Linked DNA regions of Homo sapiens: region 2 is linked to region 1. Evidence: promoter capture Hi-C in 16 types of primary human blood cells and fetal thymus (Javierre and others, 2016). All regions are on one chromosome and are shown on one strand. Each heading gives the region's core, a stretch centred on a gene start or on the middle of the fragment in contact. The rest is flanking DNA. Distances are from core to core; before and after follow the strand shown. Region 1 holds the start of AQP11 (aquaporin 11). Region 2 overlaps LOC105369400 (a long non-coding RNA gene).

What was found. The method cuts DNA at HindIII sites, captures the fragments that hold promoters and counts their contacts. A CHiCAGO score of 5 or more calls a contact.
Region 2: a fragment that was not itself captured here is called in contact with the fragment with the promoter of AQP11 in region 1 in 2 of 17 cell types (erythroblasts and endothelial precursors); the score reaches 5.7 in erythroblasts.

The regions. Positions count from the first base shown.
Region 1 is chr11:77,586,713-77,593,421 of GRCh38, forward strand. AQP11 (aquaporin 11) reads left to right here and starts at 3,241. Exons shown (of 3, transcript NM_173039.3): 1 at 3,241-3,899. The coding sequence starts at 3,281. RefSeq lists a silencer at 2,588-3,217. The HindIII fragment of the contact is 3,851 bases long and covers 1-3,848 here.
Region 2 is chr11:77,055,770-77,062,862 of GRCh38, forward strand. LOC105369400 (a long non-coding RNA gene) reads right to left here. Exons shown (of 3, transcript XR_950341.1): 2 at 3,598-3,761; 3 at 2,632-2,761. Among named protein-coding and RNA genes, the nearest start is that of CAPN5, 7.7 kb to the right of the region's middle. The HindIII fragment of the contact is 2,438 bases long and covers 2,926-5,363 here.

The sequences.
Region 1 (6,709 bases), core at 1,991-4,490:
TTCAGGGCAAAATCCATGATTATTGAACTATCGTCTATTTTACCTCCATTTTTATATATTAAACCTTATTAAGCACTACTATGTGCTGGGCCATGTACTAAATCTTTTTCAGGCATTATTTCTTTTAACCTTGATCTCTTGCTACTTCCCCCTTCATACTCCAGCCTAGAGCACGGGGACTCCTCTAGGCTTTCTCTGTTTGCAAAATGCAGTGCCTCTGCCTCTCTTCTTTCTCCCTCTTCTCTTTACCCCTTAACTCCTATTTATTCTTCAGGTTTCAGCTAGGATGACACTTCCTCCAAGGAGCCTTTCCTTAAGTCTGAGTGGGGGCCCCTCCCTGTGCCCAGGCCTTTCTTCTTTTACCATTGTACTTTTACACTATATTTTAATTTTGTTTTCTCTTCTGTTCCCTCTTCTATGCTATTCAAGAGCAAGGACTGTTTTTACTGCTGTTTTACCAAAGCTAACAGAGGTCTTCGTCCATGATGTCACTCTCAAGAGACTTTAATTGGTGATTTCTTGTTTCTGAAAATAGGAAGGTTGATTTGATGCAAAATATCCAATCAGTAGTAATTAATTATGTTAATTTTGCCCTTGTTCTTTAATTTAAAAAATGTCCAAAGTCCTTTTAATGACAATATGTATTACCACGATACTAAAATTTCTTACCAAAGTCCAAAACACTGGTTTTCTACATGACTCTTCCGGGTAAAAGTGAATTATCAGCAGAGCAGTAAATAAAATACATTCACATTAATCCTCAAGTGACTTCAAGTCTAGGGGAGCACTGAAAGGGTTACATTCATAGGATTGATTTAAAGGCAACTTCTTTAAACAGCAGTGACTTAAAAGTAATTCTAATTGCCGGGCGCGGTGGCTCACGCCTGTAATCCCAGCACTTTGGGAGGCCGAGGCGGGCAGATCACAAGGTCAGGAGATCAAGATCATCCTGGCTAACACAGTGAAACGCCATCTCTGCTAAAAAATACAAAAAAAAAAAAAAAAAAAAAAAAAAAAAAAAAAAAAAAGCCAGGTGTGGTGGCAGGCGCCTGTAGTCCCAGCTACTCGGGAGGCTGAGGCAGGAGAATGGCGTGAACCCGGGAGCAGAAGTTGCAGTGAGCTGAGATCACGCCATTACACTCCAGTCTGGGAGACAGAGCGAGACTCTGTCTTAAAAAAATAATAATAATAAATAATTCTAATTTAAATTCTTTCTGGCCAGGCAATCAACACAGGAAAGAGAAAAGGTCTTGATTTTCTACTAGTTTGTGTCTTGTGAAAGAATTTTTTTTTTTTTTAGACGAAGTCTCACTCTGTTGCTCAAACTGGAGTGCAGTGGCACTGTCTTGGCTCACTGCAACCTCCACCTCCCGGGTTCAAGGGATTCTCTTGCCTCAGCCTCCCGAGTAGCTGGGACTACATGTGCGCACCACCATGCCCAGCTAATTTTTGTATTTCTAGTAGAGACGGGGTTTCACTATGTTGGCCAGGCTGGTCTTGAACTCCTGACCTCGTTATCCGCCTGCCTCGGACTCCCAAAGTGCTGCACCTACAATGGGCCACCCCAGGGGACAAGCTGTTGGGACTGGAATGCGGTGGCAAGAGCCGTGCACTCTGGCTGCTGAAACCTGCTGTTTCCACTGTAAGCTACCACTTAGTGAATATTTTCTACGTATTGGGAACTGTACTAAGTGGCTTTCATGTTTTGTTTTTTGTTTGTTTGACTGGTTTGTTGTTGTTGTTGTTGTTGTTGTTGTTGTTTTTGAGACGGAGTTTCGCTCTTGTTGCCCAGGCTGGAGTACAATGGCGCGATCTAGGCTCACCACAACCTCTGCCTCCCGGGTTCAAGCGATTCTCCTGCATCATCCTCCCGAGTAGCTGGGATGACAGGCATGCGCCACCATGCCCGGCTAATTTTGTATTTTTAGTAGAGACGGGGGTTTCTCATGTTGGTCAGGCTAGTCTCGAACTCCCGACCTCCGGTGATCCGCCCGCCTCGGCCTCCCAAAGTGCTGGGATTATAGGCGTGAGCCACCGCGCCCAGCCGCGCCCGGTTTTTGTTGTTGTTTTTGTTTCTAAAAACAGCGTCTCGCTCTGTGGCCCAGGCAGGGGTGCAGTGGCGCGATCTCAGCTCACTGCAGCCTGGAACTCCTGGGGTCAAGCGGTCTTCCCACCTAAGCCTCTCCGTGCTGGGACTCCGGACGCGCTCCACCTCACGCAGCCGTATTCCTGCTTTCAAAGCAGATGGAAGAGGTGCGCCAGGACCCCCAGTTCTTGGAAACAGACCTCTCCAGTTACCTGTTGTTTCCTCTTCACGAAGAGTGCATGTAACAGTAAGACACAACTGTTTCATATTATACGTAAAGAGTTCATGCCAAAGGTTATAGACAGTCACATGCTAAAACTAGGCTACACTTTGAAGAATCACCGCTCAAGTTCTGGAAAAAAGAGGTGACTGTTGAACAACACTGTGAGGGTAATCGATGCCACTGAAATATACACTTAAATTGATTAAAGTGGCGAATTTTATCTGGCATATATTACCACCATTTTTAGAAATGTTTTTTGGCAGGTGAAGAAAAGCAAGGCTCCAGGAGGCCCTGCGCACCGGTCTACGCCCACTAACTCACCCGCCCCCTGCGCCGCGTCTCCCCTCTCAATTTCAGTCGCCCATTGATAAAAACGAGGTGGCTATGTGAGATGGCCTTCAGCGGTCTTTCCAGCTCCACGGTTTTACAGTGTGGAGCGGGGAAAGAAAAACTCTAAGGTCCTCGCTGCAAAGCAACCATCAGAGCTCCGCCGCGCCGTGCCGCTCCTCTCCGCCCCGTGGTCCGGGTGTCACCGCCCGCAGGGGCGCAAGGGCCGCAGCACGCGTGCGCAGTGGGCACCAAGAGCGCTGCGTCGACCGCGCCGCGCCGGCCCTCCGCCGCCGCGCCCGCCTACAAGGCCCTGAGGGAGACTGCGGAGGGTGAGTGCGCGGTGGGCTCGGCTGACCGTTGGCCCTGCGGCCGGCGCCCTAGGCTACCTCCCTTCGCCTCCCCGCGCCTCCCCGCGCCTCCCCGCCTCCCCGCCTCCCCGCCTCCTCGGCTCTGGTTCCAACACCCCAGCGCCAAGCCGGGGAGGCGGGGAGGACTTCTTAAGTGTGCCGCTCGGGAGCCTCCCGCTCGTCCCGCCCCGAGGGGCGTGAGGAGGGGAGGGGCTGCGGACTTCGGACTCGGGCCTGGAGACCGCCTCCTACCCAGAGCCGGAGCCCGCAACCCGCTCAGGCGGCGACGGAGCCATGTCGCCGCTGCTGGGGCTCCGGTCCGAGCTGCAGGACACCTGCACCTCGCTGGGACTGATGCTGTCGGTGGTGCTGCTCATGGGGCTGGCCCGCGTAGTCGCCCGGCAGCAGCTGCACAGGCCGGTGGCCCACGCCTTCGTCCTGGAGTTTCTAGCCACCTTCCAGCTCTGCTGCTGCACCCACGAGCTGCAACTGCTGAGCGAACAGCACCCCGCGCACCCCACCTGGACGCTGACGCTCGTCTACTTCTTCTCGCTTGTGCATGGCCTGACTCTGGTGGGCACGTCCAGCAACCCGTGCGGCGTGATGATGCAGATGATGCTGGGGGGCATGTCCCCCGAGACGGGTGCGGTGAGGCTATTGGCTCAGCTGGTTAGTGCCCTGTGCAGCAGGTACTGCACAAGCGCCTTGTGGAGCTTGGGTCTGACCCAGTATCACGTCAGCGAGAGGAGCTTCGCTTGCAAGAATCCCATCCGAGTCGACTTGCTCAAAGCGGTCATCACAGAGGCCGTCTGCTCCTTTCTCTTCCACAGCGCTCTGCTGCACTTCCAGGAAGTCCGAACCAAGCTTCGTATCCACCTGCTGGCTGCACTCATCACCTTTTTGGTCTATGCAGGTTTGTCATTCTCACCAAATACTTGGCACTTCCAGAGCCTCTATGACATGAGGCTGTAAGTTCTTTACTAAAATACATTTGAAACCGTCTATCCCGCTATGATGTAAATGCTGGTATCCCCGTTATTCTAACCATTTTGCAGCCCGTTCTTAACCAGTAGGGCCGACACGTAGAGCCTTCATGCAGTGCTGCTTTGAACACCCAGAGAAAGGAGCCACCTCTGTGCTGAAACTGAGATACTGTGAGATATTGCCAAGGGTTCAGATATCCTACAAAGGGATTGTTTTAATGGTAGAAAGGAAAGATAACTTATTAACTGCCTCTTTCTTCATGCCAAGGTGGTATAGATCGTTTCGGATACTCTTACTGAAAAATGATCCTGGCTTTACAAAGTTCCTTTCGATTTAAAGCACAAGGCACATGATTGGTTAGTATAAGAGCGGAGGGTAGAAATTTTGTAGTTCCATTTTAGTCCTATAAATGATTTAAAGTCATTTCTTATTTCCTTAATAATTCATTTTGAGTTATGAAATTTCTTATTTCCTTAATAATTCATTTTGAGTTATACATGAACTTTTAAGTGACCTATTAAGAAAAATGTTTAAATGATAACTTGCTTCAAATTAAAGATGCTTTTTAAAATATAACTCTTGAGAAATCTGTTGATTTCTTTTAAACCATTTGTTTACTTTGACAGATCTCAGATGCAGTGGGCAATCTAGTCCTAAGTGGGAGGAGGAAATCCAAAACACAAGTATTTAATGATGAAATGTGTCATTTTAAATGATTACAACAGAATATCTTTATTGGGACTACATCTAAATTATAAAAGACTGTGGAGGCAGAAATAACAACAAAGGAAATTTGTGGTAATAATCTTCTGCCCATTAAAAGTGAAACAATGACTAGAAGCAAACTTCAAGATAAGGACTCCTAAACACGTACTTGACCTTCTAGGGTAAAAATGAAAGCCTTCAGCCGGGCGCGGTGGCTCACGCCTGTAATCCCAGCACTTTGGGAGACCGAGGTGGGTGGATCACCTGAGGTCAGGAGTTTGAGACCAGCCTCGCCAACATGGTGAAACCCCGTCTCTACTAAAAATACAAAAAAAATTTAGCCAGGCATGGTGGTGGGCGCCTGTAATCTCAGCTACTCGGGAATCTGAGGCGGGAGAATTGCTGGAACCCGGGAGGCGGAGGTTGCAGTGAGCTGAGATCGCGCCATTTTACTCCAGCCCAGGCGACAACAGTGAGACTCTGTCTCAAAAAAAAGAAAGAAAGCAAGCCTTCCCAATCAATTTCCCCTTCTTTAGGTCTAGTACCACTTTTTAAGTAGACATAAATGGAAATAAGTGGTATAGAAGAGTGAAGGGGGCCGGGCACGGTGGCTCACACCTGTCATCCCAACACTTTGGGAGGCCAAGGCAGGTGGATCGCTTGAGCCCAGGCGTTCGAGACTAGCCTGGGCAACATAAGAGAAATCCCATCTCTCCAAAAAATACAAAAATTAGCCGGGCGTGCTGGTGCGCACTTGTAGTCCCAACTACTTGGGAGGCTAAGGTGGGAGGATCACCCAAGTCCAGGAGGTTGAGATTGTGGTGAGCTGTGATAGTGCCACTGCACTCCAGCCTGGGTTATAGAGACCCTGTCTGTCTCAAAAGAAAAAAAAAAAGAAAAAGAGAAAAAGAGTGACAAGTACAGGCATATTTGAGGGATTGGTGGGTAGTTGCTTATTTATTGAAGTTTTAGATTTTAGCTAAAGCAGAAACATCCCCTGTATATGAACAGAATTGTCACTGCAAAAAGAGTTATGCTATGGTTTAGCTCTTTATTTCTACAATTAAAAGCAGTAAAAACTTAAAAAAGAATTTTTACATCAATAGAACATTAACTACAGTTGGATTTTTCAATACCTATGTTCCTCTTCCCTCTCTTGATTAACCTGAAGTTGATATTCTTTCTGTCTACTTTTAATACATATTTATGATTCCATAGATAATACTGTATATATTAGCCATTCCCTATTTTATCAGTGACAAAAAATTTGAGAGAAGAGACACAGATAATACTTGGAGTTATAGATCCAGTCATAGATATAAGGAAAGTTATTAGAAGTATCTATAAAATATCAACAGATCAAAAACACTGCCCTTTTTTTCTTGAAATGAGGGTACTAATTGATGGGGGAGAGGGAGAGTATAAAGGGAACACTAGAGCAGTGTTTCTCTCTGTATTAAAATCACCTGGGGAGCTCTTTAAACGTCCTTGTTCTGGGCCCACAGATTAAAATCCAATTGCTCTGGCAAGGGGCCTAGGCAGCGGTGTATTGTAAAGCTTCACAGGTGATCCCATTATGAAACCAAGGTAAAGAAGCACTGCTTTAGGAGTCTAGACCTGCACTGTGCAATTCAGTAGCCACTAGCTGCATGTGGCTGTTTACACTTAAATTAACTGAAATTAGATTCAGAGTAGCCACATTTCAAGTGGTCAGTTGTCAAATTGTGCTGTAGCTAGTGGGTACAGGATTGGACAGTGCTAGAGTCTGTTTGCATGGGTAGAACAAAATAGACAATTGTTGATTACTATTAGTTACAGAAATTTATAATGCAGTATGATCTTCCCTTTGTTTGTTTTCTGCCAATATAAGGGAGATAAGAATATTCAGTTGTCAGCTGTTATAGGCCAAGCATTTTGCAAGGAAATTTATGAGAGTTATCTTAATTAATTCTTACAACAACCCATCGGCCGGGCGCGGTGGCTCACGCCTGTAATCCCAGCACTTTGGGAGGCCGAGGCGGGCAGATCACGAGG
Region 2 (7,093 bases), core at 2,895-5,394, 530 kb before region 1:
CCATTTTGGCCAGGCTGGTCTCAAACTCCTGACCTCAAGTGATCCACCTGCCTTGGCCTCCCAAAGTGCTAGGACTACAGGCGTGAGACACGGTGCCCCGCCAAGAGTTTTAAGCAATAGAGTAAAGGATTGGATTTGGATTTGAGCAAGTTCATGCACTGCTGGGGTAGCGGGATCTGGGGCAGGGAGCCCTGGGGATGGTGGGGAGGTGGTGCGCAGTAGTGCACCTGTTCTTGTGGGAAGAAAGGAGTGGAGGGGTCCGGGGTAACAGGAGCAGGACCTGGCAGGGCATGGTGCCTTGGTGTGTTGAAGGGCGGGAAAGGGGAGAAGAGGAGAGAAGGAAGTGATCTTGGACCTGCAGGGCTGGTTCCTGGAAAGTAGGGGGTGGGGATGGGGTGTGCTTGTCAGGGCCCAGAGGAAGACTGGTTCGGCTCTGGCCCTTGGAGTGGAGTGACTGGGGTAGGAGGATTCAGTAGACTGAGGCCCCTGGGCCTGGAGCTTGGAGAAGATCTGAGCACCTGTGCCTGGAGAGTGAGTGGTCCTAGGACCCTGTGGAAGCACCTAGGGGCATGGAGAGTTCTCCACGCCCCAACTGCCTCTGACCCTACCCCATCTCTCCCATAGCTTCCCAGCATGCAGGTGAGGTGAGGGCTCTGAGTGTTGTCTGAATGCTCTGCGCCAGGTGTCAGCCAGGCCCCTTCCTATGTCCCCTTCCTTTATCCCCTCCGTCCTCACTGCTGGGTCCAGGCTGAAGTGTTCTGAAGCACTGCCCTGCCCCTGCTGAGCAATACTGGGCTCTACACAGAAGTGGGGAAAAGGGAGCCTCCTGCCCCTAAACTCTTGGGGTTGGGGCACAGCTGTCTGGGTGGCCTGAGACTCCTGCTAGCAGCCCCCACCCAATCCCTGTTCAAATGGGAGCCCAAGGGCCAGATGTGGTGGGGCAGGGGCTCCTTCCCACACTTTGGGGCCCCTCTAGGTGCCAGAGTACTTGAAACCTTCAGGTGAAACCAAAGCTTCCTAGCAAATGGGTTCCTGTCCCCACATCCAAGGGGACACCAGATCTACCCCTCTTCTGGGCCTAAATATCTTAAGGCTCAGCCAGGACCCCTTGCACACCCAATTCAGCCATATGCCCCCCACCCCCACCCTGCCTCCTCGGTGCTAATTTGTAACCTCCCAACAAGATCATTTTGCCCACTGCCCAGATAGAGCCAATTTATCAAGACAAGGGCATTGCAATAGAGAAAGAGGTTAATTCACACAGAGCCAGCTGAACAGAAGACCGGTGTCTTATTATTACTCAAGTCAGTCTCTCTGAAAACTTGGAGAATGGGGTTTTTTAAGAATAATTTGGTGGGTAGGGGGCAAGAGAGTAGGGAGTGATTATTGATTGGGTTAGAGATGAAATCACAGTGAGTCAAAGCCATCCTTTAGCACTGAGTCAGTCTCTGGGTGGGGGCCACAAGACATGATGAGCCAGTTTATCCATTTGGGTGATGCCTGATCCATCGAGTGCAGGGGCTGAAAAATATTTTCAGCACCAGTCTTAGGTTTTACAATAGTGATGTTATCCCTAGGAGTAACTGGGGAGGTGTAGAATCTTGTAGCCTCTGGCTACATGTCTCCTAAACCATAAATTTCTTTTTCTTTTTTTTTTTGAGACAGGGTCTTGCTCTGTTGCCCAGGCTGGAATGCAGTGGCATGATCTTGGCTCACTGCAACCTCCACCTCCTGGGTTCAAGTGATTCTCCTGCCTCAGCCTCCTGAGTAGCTGGGACTACAGGCGTGTGGCAACACGCTTGGGTGCTTTTTGTATTTTTAGCAGAGACAGGGTTACACCATGTTGGCCAGGGTGGTTTCAAACTCATGCCCTCAAGCAGTCCACCTACTTCAGCCATCCAAAGTGCTGGCATTACTGGCAGGAGCCACCGCTCCCAGCTGACTTCTAAACCATAATTTCTAATCTTGTGGCTAATTTATTAGTCCTACAAAGGCAGTCTGGTCCCCAGGCAAAAGGAAGTTTCTTTTGGGAAAGGGCTATTGTTACCTTTGTTTCAAAGTTAAACTATAACTATCTCCCAAAATTAGTTCTTACACCCCAAAATGAACAAGGGTAGCTGGGAGGTTAGAAGCAAGGTGGAGTCAGTTAGGTCAGATCTCTTTTACTGGCATAATTTTCTCACTGTTATAATTTTTGCGAAGGCAGTTTTAGAACTGGGAACCCAGAGCAGAATCAGTCAGAGCTCCATCAGCTGGGGAGTGGGGGCAGATGTACACATATCAGCCTAGGGGCAGGGTGGGGGCAGGTGCCGCTGCCTCTGGGCCCCAGATTGCACAGGGAGGACGCAGGCACCCCTCCTGCCCACCCTTACTCTTGAACCCTGCCAGCTGCTGCTGGCCTGTAGGACGCTGGAGAATCCAGGGACCCTGGGGACCCACAGGCCCCTCTTTGGCAATATGCAGGCAGCAGCCCCAGGTGCCGGCTTGGCTCCAGTTCTCTCCACTGGCTGGGGTCTTGGGCGGGATTTTCTCACTCCCAGGGTCGCGGGGCTACATCAGGAGCTTGCAGGGCCTGGCAGGAGGATTTAGGTGGACACTCCTAGCACTTGGGAAAACAGTCTGGCAGTTCCTCAAAAAGTTAAACATGGAGTTACCCTATGACCCAGGAAGTCCACTCCCAGACATATACCCGAGAGAGCTGAAGACAGATGTCCACTCCAAATCTTGCACATGCAGCCTGGGTTACACAGTGAGACTCCATCTCCACAAAAAAATAAAAATAAAAATTAGCCGGGCATGGGGATGCATGCCTGTAGTCCCAGCTATTAGGGAGGCTGAGGTGTGAGAATCAGTTGAGCCTGAGAAGTCGAGGCTGCAATGAGCCGTGATCACACCACTGCACTCCAGCCTGGGCCACAGAGTGAAAGCTTGTCTCAAAAAAAACCTTGCACATGAATATTCAAAGCATTATTCACAGTAGCCAAAGAGTGGAAAAATCCCAAATGTCTGTCAACAGATGAATGAATAAACAAAATGTGGTATATTCATACAATGGAATATTATCCAGCCCTAAAAAAGAATGAAGTACAGATCCATGCTACAACATAGATGGACCTTGCAAACATTATGCTAAGTGAAAGAAGCTAGACTTTGGAAGGCCAAGGCAGGAGGATCACTTGAGACCAGGAGCTGGAGATGAGCCTAGGCAACAGAGTATGACTCTGTCTCTACAAAAATTAAAAAGTTAGCTGGGCACATTGGCACACACCTGTAGTCCCACCTATTCAGGAGGCTGAGGCAGGAGGATTGCTTGAGCCCAGGAGTTTGAGGCTGCAGTGAGCTGTCATCACGTGACTGCACTCCAACCTGAGCAACAGAGTGAGACCCTGTCCCCCCGCAAAAAAAAAGAAAAGAAAAGAAAGAAAGAAGCCAGACTCAAAAGGCCACATATTGTATGATTTCAGTATATGAAATACCTGCAATAGCCAAATCCATTGAGATAGGATTTGAGGTTGCCAGGGGATAAGGGGATAAGGGGAGGGGGAAATGGAGAATGCTTGGGTATGAGGTTTCTATTGGGGTGGTGAAAATCCCGACCTCTAGATTAGCAGAGCATCCAGTTTCTCTGTATTAGAGCCCTCCATCCAATTATAAAGAAGAATCCAATGGGGAGCGTGCTTCCTCTATCCAATGGACCAGTAGTGTTTCCAAATCTCCACAAGCAGTGCCTTGTGGAGATGTTACTGGAAAGGACTCCCAATCTGAAATTAGATAGTGGTGATGGTTGCACAGTTTTGTAAATATACTAAAAACTACTGCATTTTATACTTTAAAGGATGAATTTTATGGCATGTAAATGATATCTCAATAAGAAAAATTAAAAAGATATAGTCAGAGAAGTGTCACTCCCTGCTCTTCCCTGCCATCCTATCCCATTCAACAGTTCTTTCCACTCCTTTCCACCTGTCCCTGTAGGTAGCCAATCGCACCAGTTTCTGATCTTTCCTTCTTGTACTTCTCTGCATAGATGAGCAGACACCTGTGTATGTTCTTATATTGTCTTCTCTCTCCATGTGTGTTCTGGGATTCACACTATCAATTCAATGTGCTCCTCCTCATTTTCTTTTACAGCTGCTTAATGCTCCATTGCTTGGATATACTACAATTTATTCAACCACTCTCCCACTTGTGGGTATGTAGATTGTTTCCAATATTTGCAATTAAAAAGAACGCGTCACTGAAAAAGGCTTTGCATGTGTATTTCCATACTGCCAGAGGTATGGGTTCTGAGTAGATTCCGAGAAGTGGAGTTGCCTCGGGTTAAAGGGTACATGCGTATGTAATTTTCTTAGGTATTACCAATTCCCCTAGAATTGTACCAAATTGTACCAAATTGTATTCCCACCAGCAACAGCTGTGAGTGACTGTTTCCCTACAACTTGGTGAACAGAATGTGTTGTGATCTTTTTTATTGTCAGTCTGAAAAGTGAAAAATGGCATCTCACTGTAGAGCGATTTGCCTCGCTCTAATTACCAGTGTCCTTGAATATTTTTTTCATAAGTTTGAGGGCCATTTTAATATCTTTTTTGGTTAGTTACCTGTTGGTGCCTTTCCCCTCACTTTACCATTGGATTTGGTGGTTTGTGGTATTTTGTTATAGCAGCCCGAGCTGACTAAGACAGGTGGCTTTGTTTTTTACACTTAGATCCCTAATCCATTCAGTTTATTCTTTTGTTGGATGTGTGCTATGGTTTAGATGTTTGTCCCCTCCGAGGCTCATGTTCAAATGTGATTTCTAGGGTTGGAGTGGGGCCTGATGGGAGGTGTTTGGCTCATGGAGGTGGTCCCTCATGAATAGATTAATGCCTTCCCTGGGGGTGAGTGACTTCTCACTCTCTTAGTTCCTGGGAGAGCTGCTTGTTGAAAGATTCTGGCACCCTCTCCCCTCTCTCTTGCTTCTCCTCTTGCCATGTGATATCTGCTCACATCAGCTCTCCTTCACCTTCCACCATGAGTGGAAGCAGCCTGAGGCCCTCACCAGATGCCCAGTCTTGAACTTTCCAACCATCAGAATTATGGGCCAAATAAACCTTTTTTCTTTATAAATCACCCAGTCTCAGGTATTCCTTTGCAGCAACACAACACAAAATATGACAGTGTAACATATGGATTTAATTTTATCTTTTTCCAAATGGCTCCCAGTTGTCCCGGCATTATCTATTGCAAAGTCTATGTTTAGTGTGTAGCAAAGGCAACATCTCAAATTAGTGGGGTAAAGATGTTTTGGGTCTAATCCTAGATTTTCTAGTCTATTCCAATTTATCTATTCATGTACCAGAACCATCCCAGTTTTAATTACAGAAGCTTTTTTTTAATTTTTTTTTTAATGTCTGGCAAGTCTAGTTTTCTCTCATGGTTTTTCTTTTCCAATGTCTTCTTATCTGTTCTTGCAAGTTTATTTTTCTATGTGAACTTTTGTATCAACATGTCTATCTTCATAAAATACCTTGCTGTTTCTTTTATTGGGATTACATGGAGTTTAACATTAACTTAGGGAGGACTAACACCATTACAATGTTGACTTTTCCTGTGCAAACAAAGGGATATTTTTCTGTTTGTTTTCCTTTCGTGTCTTTCAAAAATGTTCTAAAAATTTCATCATGGCCAGGCGTGATGGCTTACGCCTATAATCCCAGCACTTTGGGAGGCCAAGGTGGGCAGATCACCTGAGTTCAGGGGTTTGAGACCAGCCTGGCCAACATGGTGAAACCCCATCTCTACTAAAAATAAGAAAATTAGCCAGGTGTGGTGATGCACACCTGTAATTCCATCTACTAAGGAGGCTGAGACACAAGAATCACTTGAACCCAGGAGGCGGAAGTGAGCTGAGATTGCGCTACTGCACTCCAGCCTGGCGACAGAGTGAAACTCTGTTTAAAAAAAAAAAAAAAAAAAATCCTCATATAGGTTTATACATAAAGGCCATTATATTTTACATGTTAATTTTGTATCCTGCTACTTCACTGAACTCCTTTACTATTTGAATTAGTTTTATCATTGATTCTCTGGGGTTCTTCAGGTATATTATGCCGTATGTAAATAGAAATAGTTCTCCTTCTTCTTTACCATTCTTAGACCTCCAATTGATTTATCTTGTCTAATTGCATTGGCTAATACATCTAGTACAATGTGGAATAGTAGTGGAGATAATGGCATCCTTGCCATGTTTCTCTTCTTTCTTTCTTTCTCTTTTTTTTTTTTTTTTTTTAGAGTCAAGGTCTGACTCTGTCACCCAGGCTGGAGGTCATGGCATAATCAGGGCTCACTGCAGCCTCAACCTCCTGTGCCCAAGGGATCCTCCCACCTCAGCCTTTTGAGTAGCTGGAGCTACAGGCAAATGCCACCAAACCTGGCTTTTTTTTTTTTTTTTTTTTTGTATTTTGTTTTGTAGAGATGGGGTCTCGTTTTGTCACCTAGGCTGGCCTCAAACTCCTGGCCTCATGCAATCCTCTCATAGCAGTCTCCCAAAGTGTTGGGATTGCAGGCATGAACCACTGTGCCTGGCCCTTGTGATGTTCTTGATCTTAGTGGAAATGCTTCCAGTGTCTCTTGATTAAATAAGATGCTGGTTTATAGGACTATATCTTATCATATTGAGAAAGTATCCCTCAATTCCTATTTCACTGAGTGTTCTGATCATGAATGGGTATTGATCAAATACCCATTTCTTAGCATTTATAGGGAAATAAATGAGCATATTATTCTATCCTTAGGTTCATTCATATGGTACATGCTTGTTGTACATTGAATTGGATCCCATAGAAGGAATTGACCCTGATGATACCTTTATCAGAATTAGGGATACCTTTATCTTGAACTTCTAGCCTCCAGGACTGAGACAATACATTTCTGTGGTTTAAGCCGCCCAGCTTGTCATTATGGCAGCCCTAGGAAACTAAAGCAATGTTATTAATGGATGGATTTTTCTAATATTAAAGCTACTCTGGAGGTTGAGGCAGGAGAATCGCTTGAACCCGGGAGGTGAAGGTTGCATGCAGTGAGCTGAGATCACGCCACTGCACTCCAGCCTTG